Regions from separate parts of the Homo sapiens genome. Here all the other regions are linked to region 5. The links are contacts of gene promoters, found by promoter capture Hi-C in human tissues and cell types (Jung and others, 2019). All regions are on one chromosome and are shown on one strand. The core of a region is centred on a gene start or on the middle of the fragment in contact, and the rest is flanking DNA. Distances in the headings are between cores, read along the strand shown. Region 1 overlaps DYNLRB1 (dynein light chain roadblock-type 1). Region 2 overlaps ITCH (itchy E3 ubiquitin protein ligase). Region 3 holds the start of AHCY (adenosylhomocysteinase). Region 4 overlaps RBM39 (RNA binding motif protein 39). Region 5 holds the start of TRPC4AP (transient receptor potential cation channel subfamily C member 4 associated protein).

Region 1 (2,700 bases), core at 139-2,638, 570 kb before region 5:
TTTCGCCCAGGCTGGAGTGCAGTGGTGTGATCTGAGCTCACTGCAACCTCTGCCTCCCGGGTTCGAGTGATTCTCCTGCCTCAGCCTCCGGAGTAGCTGGGACTGCAGGAGCATGCCACCATGCCTGGCTAATTTTTCTATTTTTGGTAGAGACAGGGTTTTTTTTCTATTTTTAGTAGAGACAGGGTTTCACCATGTTGACCAGGCTGGTCTCAAACTCATGACCTCAGGTGATCCGCCCACCTCCGCCTCCAAAAATGCTGGGATTATGGGCGTAAACCACCATGTATGTTAACAATTTGAAGCAGTACCAGAGGATATAATATAGAAAGTTTATGTGGTCCCCATCTTACTACCCCGTGGCAACTTCTGTTGGCAGTTGGGTGTGTTTCCTTCCAGATGTGTTTGGTGCATAAGCACATTTATGTATAAGCTGTTTATTAGATGAAACTGGAATATATATATATTTGTATATGTTAACTTTACTTTAAGGCTGAAGTGGAGAGATCGCCTGAGCCCAGGAGGTCAAGGCTACAGTGAGCCGTGACTGCACCACTGCACTCCACCCTGGGTGAGAAAAAAATAAGAGAAAACAGAAGTTGACTTTAAGATATATATGTATATATCTTATTCTGCAACTTGTTCTGTTCACTTAAAAATATCACACATTTTTCTGTGTTATTATATGCAGGTCCACTTCATTCTTTTTAAGGTCTGTATCGTATCCTAGTCCCATATGTACATTTAGGTGGTGTATAGTTTTTTTATTCCAGACACTGCTGCAGTAACTGTTCTTGTCTTTTTTGCACTCATGCTAGTGGTTATGTAGGATAGATTTCTACAAGTGGCACTTTTGGCTTGCATATTTTACATTTTAGGTGGAAACTGACCTTTAGAATAATGATATAAAAATCATCTATAATTGGCCGGACACAATGGCTGACGCATATAATCCCAGCACTTTGGGAGGCCAAGGTGGGCAGATCACTTGAGGTCAGGAGTTGGAGACCAGCCTGGGCAACATGGTGAAACTCTGTCTCTACTAAAAATACGAAAAGTAGCCGGAAGCCGTGCATCTGTAATTCCAGCTGCTCAGGAGGCTGAGGCACTAGAATCGCTTGAACCCGGGAGGCGGGGGTTGCAGTGATCCGAGACCAGGCCAGTGCACTCCAGCCTGGGCAACAGAGCAAGACTCTGTCTCAAAATAAATAAATAAAATTAAAAAATAATCACATATAATTCTCCTCGTCCAGTTTCACTGTGCCACATAACTATTTTCATCTTTGTATGTTCTCCTTCCTCTTTTGTTCACATATGCATATTTTCCAAGATAATGCATGCTGAGTTTTGGGGGGATTTTTTTCTTTTTTTGTTGTTTTAATATCCAAAAACATTTAACCTTGTTGTCATATCATCTTTGTGATTAACTACTTAGTGACTACATAATACTCGGTGAAATAGTTGTACCATAATTGGCCAAATATCTTACCTGTGTACATTTGGGTTGCTCCCATTTCTTTTTGGTTTGTTTGTTTTAGAGATGGAGTCTCACTCTGTTGCCCAGACTGGAGTTCAGTGGCTCAATCTCAGCTCACTGCAACCTCTGCCTCCCAGGTTCAAGTGATTTTCCTGCCTCAGCCTCCTGAGTAGCTGGGATTAACAGGTGTGCATCATGACGCCCAGCTAATTTTTGTATTTTTTAGTAGAAACAGGGTTTCGCCATGTTGGCCAGGCTGGTCTCAAACTCCTGACCTCAGGTGATCCGCCTGCCTCAGCCTCCCAAAGTGCCAGGATTACAGGCATGAGCCACCATACCTGGCTGCTTCCATTTCTTAATTAGTAGAAATAGTGCTGTGATGATGCTTCTGTGAATATCTTGTTTTGTTTCATTTTAACTTACTTATTAGATTATTTCCTCAGGATAAAATTCTTAGGAAAATAATTTCTGAGGTGGAAGGACCAGTGCTTTTATGGTTCTTGCAATATATTGTCCTGTAGCTTTGTCAAGATTGTATTGCCCTTGCACCTGCCAGTTTTGTAATAACAATGCCAGCATTTAAAAATAAACCTCAGCATTGCTATAATTTTTCATTTCTGTCTTTTTTTTTTGAAATGGAATCTCACTCTGTTGCCCAGGCTGGAGGGCACGATCTCAGCTCACTACAAACTCTGCCTCCCAGGTTCAAGCAATTTTCCTGCCTCAGCCTCCTGAGTAGCTGGGATTACAGGCCCATGCCACCATGACGGCTAATTTTTGTATTTTTAGTAGAGACAGGGTTTCCCCATGTTGGCCAGGCTGGTCTCAAACTCCTGACCTCAAGTGATTCACCCACCTCAGTTTCCCAAAGTGCTGAGATTACAGGTGTGAGCACCACGCCCAGCTGAATTTTTCATTTGTTTGTGAGGGATGATGACCATGGTTTGATGTGATTGTAATTTCTCGTAGGCATATTTTCTACTAGTATTCTTTTGTGCACTACCTACTAGAGACTTGCTATTGTTCTTAGTCATTTTGTGTTTTTTTTTTATTTATTTTGTCTGTTATATTTGATGCAAATACTTTTCTATCCTGTTAGATTAGTTATTCTTATACAGAAGTTTTATGTTTAGTGGTCAAATTGGTCATAGTTCTTTGTCAGTCATTTGCTTCCAGTGGTCATCCCTCCTATGCTGAGCCAATGGATCCTCCTGGATCTTTAT
Region 2 (2,700 bases), core at 20-2,519, 640 kb before region 5:
AAAAAGAAGAAGAAGAACAAAGAGAGAATTCTGGATTCTGCAAATAAATTTTTAAAATTTAATGCGACTGCCAAGACATGAACTTATCTTGCTGTTATGTTAACAAGAGCAAGCTGTAACACTGTGGGTGATTATGTTTTTCTTTTTTTTTTTTTTGAGACGGAGTCTCGCTCTGTCGCCCAGGCTGGAGTGCAGTGGCGCGATCTCGGCTCACTGCAACCTCCGCCTCCCGGGTTCACGCCATTCTCCTGCCTCAGCCTCCCGAGTAGCTGGGACTACAGGCGCCCGCTACCACGCCCGGCTAATTTTTTGTATTTTTAGTAGAGACGGGGTTTCATTGTGTTAGCCAGGATGGTCTCGATCTCCTGACCTCGTGATCCGCCCGCCTCGGCCTCCCAAAGTGCTGGGATTACAGGTGTGAGCCACCGCGCCCGGCCTATGTTTTTCTTTAGAGACAGCCTTTGAGTTGGTGATAAGCTTATGCACTGAAGATGCCTTGACCAGCAAAACCTGTGTCATGAGAGGCAGAGTCCCACTTTTCTGTATATTATGCACATTGGAATTCTATTTTCATTTTAAGCTAAGCTGACATAGAAAGTAGCTTTAAATGTCAGAAGCAGGTTTGTGATACTCACTAGTTACATCCATTTTAACCTCTGTTATCACTACTACTTGAAATCATGGAATTATATTGGAAATAAAATTAAATATTACCAAATACGAACTTGACAAGACTATAATTTGGCCTAAAACTGATCCAGATGATCTCAAGTGTTAATTTGAAAAATAGTTACCAATTTTTCTTTTTTCTTTTCCTGTTTTTTTTTTTTTTTTTTTTTTTTTTTTTGAGATGGAGTTTTGCTCTTGTCGCCCAGGCTGGAGTGCAATGGCATGATCTTGGCTCACTGCAACCTCTGCCTCCCGGGTTCAAGCGATTCTCCTGCCTCAGTCTCCCTAGTAGCTGGGATTACAGATGCCCACCACCATGCCCAGCTAATTTTTGTATTTTTAGTAGAGACGGGGTTTCGACCTGTTGGCCACGCTGGTCTCAAACTCGTGACCTCAGGCCATCCGCCTGCCTTATAACTCCCAGAGTCCTGGGATTACAGGCGTGAGCCACAGCGCAGGACCAATAGTTAACCAATTTTTCAAACCACAGGAAATAAAAATTAGCCATGTCAACATGGATTAAACTTAAATTTTTGTTTAAAATGCTGATTTTTAGAAACTAAGCTTTTTAAAAAGTTTCAGTTCATTCTATGATCTTTAATACATCAGTTCATTCTATGATCTTTAATACATCAGTTATTCATTTTGAGACATGTTGAACAAATAAATTAGGATACAGCAGGAATCCCATCTTTTGAAGAATTCATTGGTAATGGGACAGAGAAGTCAGTAATTCAAAAACAGCAGAACTGTTAAAATTTCAAGTCTACTTAATTTGTTTACTAAAAGAGAAAATGATATCCACATTTTTTTTTTTTTTTTGAGACGGAGTCTTGCTCTGTCGCCAGGCTGTAATCCATCTCGGCACACTGTAACCTCTGCGTCCCGGGTTCAAGCAGTTCTCCTGCCTCAGCCTCTCGAGTTGCTGGGACTACAGGTGCACACCGCCATGCCTGGCTAATTTTTTTTTTTTTTCTTTTTTGTATTTTAGTAGAGACGGGGTTTCACCATGTTGCCCAGGTTGGTCTTGAACTCCTGAGCTCAGGCAGTCCGCCCGCCTCTGCCTCCCAACGTGCTAGAATTACAGGCATGAGCTACTGCGCCCGGCCAATATCCACATCTTCTAAACCTTAATGGGGAGATTTCAGGAAAGCAGGTAAAATTTTGTAGACTGGGAACACGAAAACAGGGAGAATCCTAAAGCAAGAGGCAGTTGGGGAACAAGCAGCAGCTTTAGATGCAGTAATTAGAGAACTGAGTTCTGCTTCCTATCCCTTGTATAGAAAGTTACTGTAGATATTTAGGATTTTGGAACTGGGTATATTAAGGAACGAGATATGTTAAGTGTATTAAGAAAGGAAGTATTTTTTAGTTGAATAATGCCTAGCATATACCTTATATTATATTCCTTATTTTGTATATATATGTATGTATATATACACACTCTCAAATTACATTATATTCCTTATTTTATATATATTTTTATATATTGTGTGTGTGTGTGTGTGTGTGTGTGTATATATATATATATATATATATATATATATTTTTTTTTTTTTTTTTTTTTTTTTTTTGAGACAGGGCCTCACTTTGTCACCCAGGCTAGAGTGCAGTGGCATGATCTCAGCTCACTGCAGTCTTGACCTCCCAGGTTCAGGTGACCCTCCTGCCTTAGCCCCGGAAGTTGCTTCTCTGTCCCATTACCAATTAATTCTTCAAAAGATGGGACTCTTCTGGTATCCTAATTTTTTTATTTGTTCAACATGTCTCAAAATGAATAACTGATGTATTAAAGATCACAGAATGGATTCAAACTTTTTAAAAAGCTTAGTTTCTAAAAATCAAGTTGTACAAGTTGTGGGGCTAAGGCAGGAGGATCACCTGAACCTGGGAGGTCAAGGCTGTAGTGAGCTGAGATCACGCCACTGCACTCCAGCCAGGGTGACAAAGTGAGACCTTGTCTCCAAAAAAAAAAATATATATATATATATGTGTGTGTGTGTGTATTTATATATACAAATGTATATTTAA
Region 3 (2,700 bases), core at 116-2,615, 790 kb before region 5:
GTGTCTTTTTTTGTTTGTTTTTTTTTTTTGAGACAGGGTCTTGCTCTGTTGCCCAGGTTGGAGCGTGGTGGTGCAATCTCGGCTCACTGCAACCTCCGTCTCCCCGGCTCAAACAGTCCTCCTGCCTCAGCCTCCCGAGTAGCTGGGAATGAAGGCGCCCGCCACCACGCCCAGCTAGTTTTTGTATTTTTGGTAGAGATAGCGTTTCACCACGTTGGCCAGGCTGGTCTCGAACTCTTGACCTCAAGTGATTCGCCCACCTCGGCCTCTCAAAGTGCTGGGACTACAGGGGTGAGCCACCACACCCGGTCCAATAGTGTCAAAGTTACTTGAAAAGCTACCAGCCAAACTGAACTGGTTTTTGCTGAAAATTCACTAGGATTGTTCCGCGTGTATTCGCTTGCACACAGTGGTGAAAGGGTGCGCTCAGAGATCTAGATGGCCTGCGTTCCAATCTTGCTCCATCACCACCAGCTGTAAGACTGAGGGCAAGTTACCTCTGCCTCAGGATTCTCATCATAAAATGAGAACAGTTTCCCTATAGAGCCATGAGACTAGAATAAAGCTAGAAGGCAGTGCCGATCCCACAGGAAACACTAAGTAAACGTTAACTATCCCTGTATTACACTTCAATCGGTGGGACAGCAGGATTTTTCAAACCACTCCAAATTTTCTTCGAGATTTCTGCAAGGCTGCCCCTGCTGGAGGGGTGGGGGACCCCACAGGTTGGGTAACTGGCCCAAAGTCCCAGGGGAGAGGAGGATCGGAGCCGGCCTGGGGCTCGCTTTCCAGGCCTCTCCTCATACACCCTCCGGGGTGCCCTCGCCGTCCCTGTAGGAGGCCCAGAGAGGGGTGGACGCTCGTCGGGGCCGCCCAGCTGGACAGGGTCCGGTCCAGGCCTAGGAGGCCGGGCGCAGGCCCCCCGAGCAGGGTCCGGCAGGTGCCAGCCGTCCCAGGCCGTGGCCAGGTGTGCTCTCCCGCGGAGCACGCCGCCAGTTTGCGGCTCGCAGACCGCGCGGCGGCCCCGGCGTCGCGGGGCATGCTGGGACTTGTAGTCCACGGCCACCCGGAACGGCCCGCTCATGGCCGCGCGAGAACTCCAACTTCCAGCTGGCTTCGCGCGGCCAGAAACGCGCCGAGGCTGCGATTCCAGGGGGTCCAGAGAGCCCCGAGTCGGCCCTGCAGCCCCCGCCACGAACAAGCCCCGGGCGGGTGCCGGGCGGCCGCAACCGGCTGCAGGTCCTGGGACTCACCGACTTTGTAGGGCAGTTTGTCAGACATGCTGGCGGCACTCGTGATGGAAACGGGCGAAGGGGGCTGGGCCTCAGTCTGGGAACAGGAACTGGGCGGGCAGCGCCGAGCAGGGATATGCGCGTGGCGCCGACGCCTTTAAATATCTTCCTCGCACTTGCATATTCATGACCCGCTGGGGCGGGGCCCAACGCGCAGGGCGGAGCCGGAGGGGATTTCGATCCCTGAAAAGAAGCCTCAGAATTTCACAAGGCGTGGCCCCAGGAGTCTCACTCACCGGTCCGGAAGGGAGCGCCGGGAGAGGCCTGAGAGCCAGCCGGGCCGTCCTCTCGCTGGTTCAGCCAGTTGATTCAGTGTCAAAACCCAGCGGAACTGAAATTCCGCCAGTTCACTTCCCTGTGCCTCAATTTCCTCATCTGTAAAATGGGCCAAATGACATCTGCCACACAGATTATTATAAGTAAAGTTGCAGGCCAGGCGCGGTGGCTCACACCTGTAATCCCAGCACTTTGGGAGGCCAAGGCGGGAGGATCGCTTGAGCCCAGGAGTTCAAGACCATCCTGGGCAACACAGTGAGACCTGAACTCTACAAAAAAAAATTAAAAATTAGCCGGGCGTGGTGGCGCGCGCTTGTGGTCCCAGCTACTTGGGACGCGGAGGCGGGAGGGAGGATCTTTTGAGCCTGGAGATCGAGGCTGCAGTGAGCTATCATCCCACCACAGCACTTGAGCCTGGGCGAAAGGGCAAGACCCTATCTCAAAAAAACCAAAACAAAGTTAAGTTGCCATTTGTCAGGTACCTACTGACATCCCAAACATTCGCCTTACTCCAAGTAACCAACACCCTGAATTTAAGTAAGTTTGCATACATTTCTTATACTTTTACTGCATCCGTATATCATTAAATAGTTCTGTGTTTAGCACCTTTATATATCAACCGTATTTACCCTTCTGCAACTTGCTTTTTTCTGTGAGCATTATATTTATGAGACTCATGCATATAGCTTGAGTATATTCATTTTTGCTGCTGTATAATTCAGTCATCCCAGGCATGGGAAGGGGAAATTGGTTTCAGGACCTCTGTGGACTCCAAAACCCTTCTATGTTCAAGTCCCTCATATAAAATGAGGCAGTATTGGCATATAACCTATGCACATTCCTCCGTACACTTTAATCATCTCTAGATTACTTATAACTAATATAATGTAAATGCTATGCAAATGGTTGTTTTGTAATTTGTATTATTTTTATAGTTATGTTTTTTTAATTGCTTTTTTTCCCCTGAATTTTTTTTTTTTTTTATGGAGTCTCACTCTGTCGCCCACACTGGAGTGCAGTGGCACCATCTAGGCTCGCTGCAACCTCCACCTCCCGGGTTCAAGCAATTCTCCTGCCTCAGCCTCCCGAGTGGCTTGGATTACAGGCACGCACCACCACACCTGGCTAATTT
Region 4 (2,700 bases), core at 172-2,671, 640 kb after region 5:
AACTGTGTCATTTTAATGTTATCTTTTATTGAGTAATTCTCTAAAGAGCTTAACGGAATGGACGCTGATTTAGACTTTGCAAAACTGGTTACTTTAACAAATAATATTCCCATGAGGGCAAGCTCAAGCACTTAGGATGCATACCTTGACATATGCAAAAACTCAGGTTTACAGCTCTTCAGAAAATAGGTTGACAACCAGTCTGTGTCACAATAACTTTGTTCCTTTTACTATTCTAGGATACTATGAAGTGTATGTTAAGAATCAGAATTATACAATTAAAAAAATTTATACTCAGTCAACTGTTTCTCAGAACATGCCATTTTTCTACTACCTAACAAACTATAGCTCAATGTGGCTTTTAAGACAATGAAGTTTTAGAATGAAAAATGCAACACGGCACTTTCCTTTGGTTAAGAAATTTAATTTAGTACTAAAGGTTTAAAGCAGAGTGTTCTGTATGTTTTATATCTATTCCTAAATACAAAAATTTTCTTCCAGGTAACTTTAAAATTAATTTGAAACATAAAGTTCCTTCAGAAAATCAAGAGTCCTGATTGAACAAGGGAATCATTTATTTATCACCTATAATTGACGAGAAGTCTGACTGGAAAGTATTTTAAGATTACCAAAGTGTTTTGAAAGGATCTTCCCTTAGACAATCTCATGGTTAAAGAAAATTGTCCATTCTCCTATTTAGTCCTGTGGTTCTCTACATTAGACAAAGGCCACCGAATATCACACATGGAGAACTTGATGCTCAGCTTCCTTGTAAAAGCTTGTAGCCTTAATCAGCTTATACACAGGATAAAAACAAGTAGACACCGGAGATGACCTTAGTGGCAAAAAGCGACATGAGACAATGGTACAGTAACGAAGGTCTGTACCCAAAAGTGTACGTTCTTATCCTTCTGGCACTTGAAGCGAAATCTTTAGCCACTCGGCCTGACACCTAAATTGGATAATTTATGTCAATTTATATGGATACACCTTCCTGGGTTTTCTTTTGATTAGAGAATTGCAAAACAAAAACATTAGGAAACCATTACTGTGGCAGAAAGTCTAAAACCAGATGACATAAACCATACCTCTGGTTGGTTGCATCAGATCCCACATCAAGACTAAACCCAACCTGATCCCCACAATTTCTTGTGATTGGTGAGGAACTATAAATGACTCCCATCCAAGCTTATACCAGAAAAAAGGAGCACATTTTCTACAAATTATATCATTTTTAATCCATTACCACATTATTTTAGGGGAACTACAAAAAAAAAAAATAGTGGCTTAACAAGCCCTGAATAACATTATATATTTTCTCATCTGTTTTATGAAATTTTATCAACCTACCTAACACAGTTGTAGTGAGAAAGACTGACATACTTACTATGAAGCATTTAGGGATCTTAGGAGGAAAAGAGCCAAAAAGAAATCAAATAAATGGCTATTTTTCTCTCGTTTTTCATTAACATAAGGTCGTAAGTATGACAGATTTTTATGTTTGTTTGAGACGGAGTCTCGCTCTGTCTCCAGGCTGGAGTACAATGGCATAATCTCAGCTCATTACAACCTCTGCCTCCCAGGTTCAAGCGATTCTCCTGCCTCAGCCTCCCGAGAGTAGCTGGGACTACAGGCGTGCACCACCACGCCCAGCTAATTTTTGTATTTTTAGTAGAGACGGGGTTTCACCATGTTGGCCAGGATGGTCTCGATCTCCTGACCTTGTGATCCACCCGCCTGAGCCTCCCAAAGTGCTGGGATTACAGGTGTGAGCCACCACGCCAAGCCCAGACTTTTTTTTTAAGACGGAGTCTCAGTTGGGTCCATGTCTCACGCCTGTAATCCCAGCACTTTGGGAAGCCAAGGCGGGCGGATCATGAGGTCAAGAGATGGAGACCATCCTGGCCAACATCGTGAAACCCTGTCTCTACTAAAAACACAAAAATTGGCTGGGCATGATGGCTCACGCCTGTAATCCCAGCACTTTGGGAGGCCAAGGCAGGTGGATCACGAGGTCAGGAGTTGAAGACCAGCCTGGCCAGGATGGTGAATCCCCATCTCTACCAAAAGTACAAAAATTAGCCAGGTGCGGTGGCAGGCACCTGTAATCCCAGCTGCTCGGGAGGCTGAGGCGGAAGAATCGCTTAAGCCCGGGTGGCAGAGGTTGCAGTGAGCCAAGACTGCGCCACTGCACTCCAGCCTGGGCAACAGACTGAAACTCCATCTCAAAAAAAAAAAAAAAAAAAAATTAGCCAGGCGTGGTGGCAGGAACCTGTAATCCCAGCTACTCGGGAGGCTGAGGCAGGAGAACTGCCTGAACCCAGGAGGCAGAGGTTGCTGTGAGCTGAGATCGTGTCATGGCGCTCCAGCCTGGGTGACAAAAACGAAACTCTGTCTCAAAGAAAAAATAAAGACAGAGGCTGGGCACGGTGGCTCACACCTGTAATCCCAGCACTTTTGGAGGCCAAGGCAGGCGGATCACAAGGTCAATTCTGGCTAACACAATGAAACCCTGTCTCTACTAAAATTACAAAAAATTAGCCAGGCATGGTGGCAGGCGCCTGTAGTCCCTGCTACCTGGGAGGCTGAGGCAGGAGAATAGCATGAACCCAGGAGGCGGAGCTTGCAGTGAGCAGAGATCACACCACTGCACTCCAGCCTGGGCAACAGAGCAAGACTCCGTGTCAAAAAAAAAAAAAA
Region 5 (2,700 bases), core at 51-2,550:
AGCCCAATTCCCACCTCACTCCCACCAACCACTTTATCAGTTTCTTGAGTATCCTTCAAACTTTTTATGAAAAAGCTGTCTTTAAATAAAGCTAATGTTTTACAGGTGTTAGCAAGGTTCGGGGTGGGGGAGGGTGGAAGAAGTAGTGGACTAGGTCCTATTCAACCTGGTTTACCCTAAAGCAGTGTCCTTCGCTCACTCAAAAATAACAATAATCATATGTTGGGCACCTGTTATAAGTCAGATGCTTAATATTAACTACCTTCAGCCCTTAGTATGCACCAGAAATGCACTAATGCTTTACACAATTGCCCCCTTTGATCTCCACAACAATCTTAAAAGGTAGGTTACTAATTCTCATCTTCATCTTACAAGTGAGGAAACTGAGGCACAGAAAGGTCACCTGCCCAAGCAAGAGAGAGGAGCAGGGCTTTGAACCCAGGCCTGACTCCAGAGTCCCTCTTAACCGTGACGCTCTACACTAGCAAACCAGATATAGTCTCTGCACCCGCTGGAACTCAGCCTAATGTGGGAGACGGGCGAGAAAAAGGCAGACAACAAAGAAATACGAAATTATAGACTAAGAAAGTAATGTAAACGAAACGAATTCGCGGCTGTGACAGAATAACAATGGGGACCTACTTTAGAAAGGGGAAGGAAAGAGTGTCAAGGAAAGGCCTGAGAAAATGACATTTATGAAATGCTCGGGAACCATTTGGGGGCTGCAATGATGACCCCCTCCCCCACGCCCAATACACGGGATAAACTCGAGGCCCACAGAGGCTAAAACAAACACGACAGGGTCCCCCAGACGTGTAGACGTGGCGCAAAGAAGGGAGGATCCAGAAACTGGGCCCAGGGTTCGTACACGCCATCAGTGTCCACAGCAGCCCAGCCCCGCTCGGCCCCTGACAAGGGACATCAAGCCAGCTGCTTCCCACGGCCCCGCTGCAGCTGAGAGCGTCCGGGCAGCTCACAGGGAGGCCTTCCGGCCAGCCAAAAGGGCTTTGGCCCGTCCAGCGGCGGCCTGGAAAGGCCTCTTCCCCGGCCCCCCGCCAGCTCCCGCCTGGTCCGCCCCGCCCCGCCCCTCCTGGTCCAGCCTCGTACCTGCACCGCCCGGACCAGGCCCCGGCCGGTCAGCTGGCCCTGCCGCAGCTGCAGCAGAATGTTACCAGGCCGCGGCCGGCCGCCCCATCCGCCCCAAGCCGCCACTGTGGCTGCCGACCGTCTCCCTCGGCCGGCTCCAGACCCAGCCGCTACCGGCGCCGCCGCCATGTCTCCTCGTCGGACAAACAGGAAGCAAGCGGCCTCGGGGCCGCGGAGATTTCTACGGGGCGGCGGAGGGGTCGCCGCAGCGCCCCCAGTGGGCCGTCGGCGGAGGCGCAAGCCGCGTGGCAGGGACCGTGTGCGGCGTGGAGGCTACTGGGAATTGTAGTCCTGCGCGGCAGCGGGGTAGGTGGGAAAAGAGATGTGGCCTTTCCTGCACTGCCGGTTTCTCTGGCCCCCGGGCCCAGCATTTCGGCGAAATCTCCCAAGGTCCACATTCTCCCATTTCTCTCGCCGATTTGGGCAGGATGCAGGCAGCTGGCCAAGAAATGATCCTGGGCTTCAGGTCAGGAGTCAGGCCCTCGAGTCCGCTTCCTGCCTGCTTCTCTCTACACGTGACTCACCGCGGACATCGACCAAGTCATCGCGCTCTGCCACTGCGCCTGTGTCCTCGTCAGGTCACTCCATCTATAGATTCTGGGAGCCTGATCAATCGTAGTTCCTGGGGCTTTCTCTGCGCCCGACACCAAACCATGTCTAGGGGAAAGGGAGGGTGTCTGGGATACAGTGGTGAGCAGAACGGCCTGGGATCCTTTATCACGAAATGCAGGTTACAGGGGAAGACAGCAGATCCATACACAAAGAAACGCAGTCTCAAACTGGATAAGTTGTGTAACTGGGTAGGTTGTTGTGAAATTAAATAATGGAAGGGAAAGGGATTAGTAAATTGTGACATCATATTCTCTGTCAGATGAAAACCCTGTCCTAATTTCTATCCACCAGATAGCATGTTGTCTCTAATACTCATTTTTTCAGCTAACTTCTGTGGCAGGATGGCACTGACTCCCCCCACCCAACACACACACACTTTTTCCCTTCCTAGCAGGGGGCCTGTAATAAAAATGAAAGAGGAGAGCTAAGTGTGATGTAACAGGGAATGGTGAAGATTGTGACTCATAACTAAGATGACTGTAACTTACTGCTCAAACCAGAACACTTTAAAGAATGAAAAGACACAATAAATAATTACACCGGGACGGTAGGCATAAAAGTGACTCTCCCAGGTGAACTGGCACTATGGTTACCATCCTCACACCCCATCTAAAAGGAGTAGACTCACCATCCATCTTCATAGAACTAGAAAAAAGAATCCTAAAAATCATATGGAACCAAAAAAGAGCCTGCATGTCCAAAGCAAGACTAAGCAAAAAGAATAAATCTGGAGGCATCACATTACCTGACTTCAATCTATACAATAAGGCCATAGTCACCCAAACAGCATGGTACTGGTATAAAAATAGGCACATAGACCAATGGAACAGAATAGAGAACACAGTATAAAACCAAATACTTATAGCCAACTGATCTTCGATAAAGCAAACAAAAACATAAAGTGGGGAAAGGACACCCTATTCAACAGCTGGTGATAACTGG

The links. Contacts are between HindIII fragments. The study calls those that stand out against the background at their distance.
Region 1: a fragment that was not itself captured here is called in contact with the fragment with the promoter of TRPC4AP in region 5 in 1 of the 25 tissues and cell types used here (adrenal gland).
Region 2: a contact is called between a fragment that was not itself captured here and the fragment with the promoter of TRPC4AP in region 5, in 1 of the 25 tissues and cell types used here (psoas muscle).
Region 3: the fragment with the promoter of AHCY here is called in contact with the fragment with the promoter of TRPC4AP in region 5 in 1 of the 25 tissues and cell types used here (small bowel).
Region 4: a fragment that was not itself captured here is called in contact with the fragment with the promoter of TRPC4AP in region 5 in 1 of the 25 tissues and cell types used here (aorta).

What each region holds. Positions count from the first base shown.
Region 1 is chr20:34,518,928-34,521,627 of GRCh38, forward strand. All of the region lies in intron 1 of DYNLRB1 (dynein light chain roadblock-type 1), which reads left to right. Among named protein-coding and RNA genes, the nearest start is that of DYNLRB1, 3.9 kb to the left of the region's middle. The HindIII fragment of the contact is 5,242 bases long and covers 1-2,700 here.
Region 2 is chr20:34,454,000-34,456,699 of GRCh38, forward strand. The region is part of intron 12 of ITCH (itchy E3 ubiquitin protein ligase); the gene reads left to right. Among named protein-coding and RNA genes, the nearest start is that of MIR644A, 11 kb to the right of the region's middle. The HindIII fragment of the contact is 4,557 bases long and covers 1-2,700 here.
Region 3 is chr20:34,301,990-34,304,689 of GRCh38, forward strand. It overlaps AHCY (adenosylhomocysteinase), which reads right to left and starts at 1,366. Exons shown (of 10, transcript NM_000687.4): 1 at 1,254-1,366. The coding sequence starts at 1,281. RefSeq lists a silencer at 741-970 and enhancers at 1,541-1,590, 1,611-1,730. The HindIII fragment of the contact is 38,207 bases long and covers 1-2,700 here.
Region 4 is chr20:35,735,163-35,737,862 of GRCh38, forward strand. The region is part of intron 3 of RBM39 (RNA binding motif protein 39); the gene reads right to left. Among named protein-coding and RNA genes, the nearest start is that of RBM39, 5.7 kb to the right of the region's middle. The HindIII fragment of the contact is 5,614 bases long and covers 1-2,700 here.
Region 5 is chr20:35,091,507-35,094,206 of GRCh38, forward strand. It overlaps TRPC4AP (transient receptor potential cation channel subfamily C member 4 associated protein), which reads right to left and starts at 1,301. Exons shown (of 19, transcript NM_015638.3): 1 at 1,108-1,301. The coding sequence starts at 1,275. RefSeq lists a silencer at 1,073-1,202. The HindIII fragment of the contact is 9,696 bases long and covers 1-2,700 here.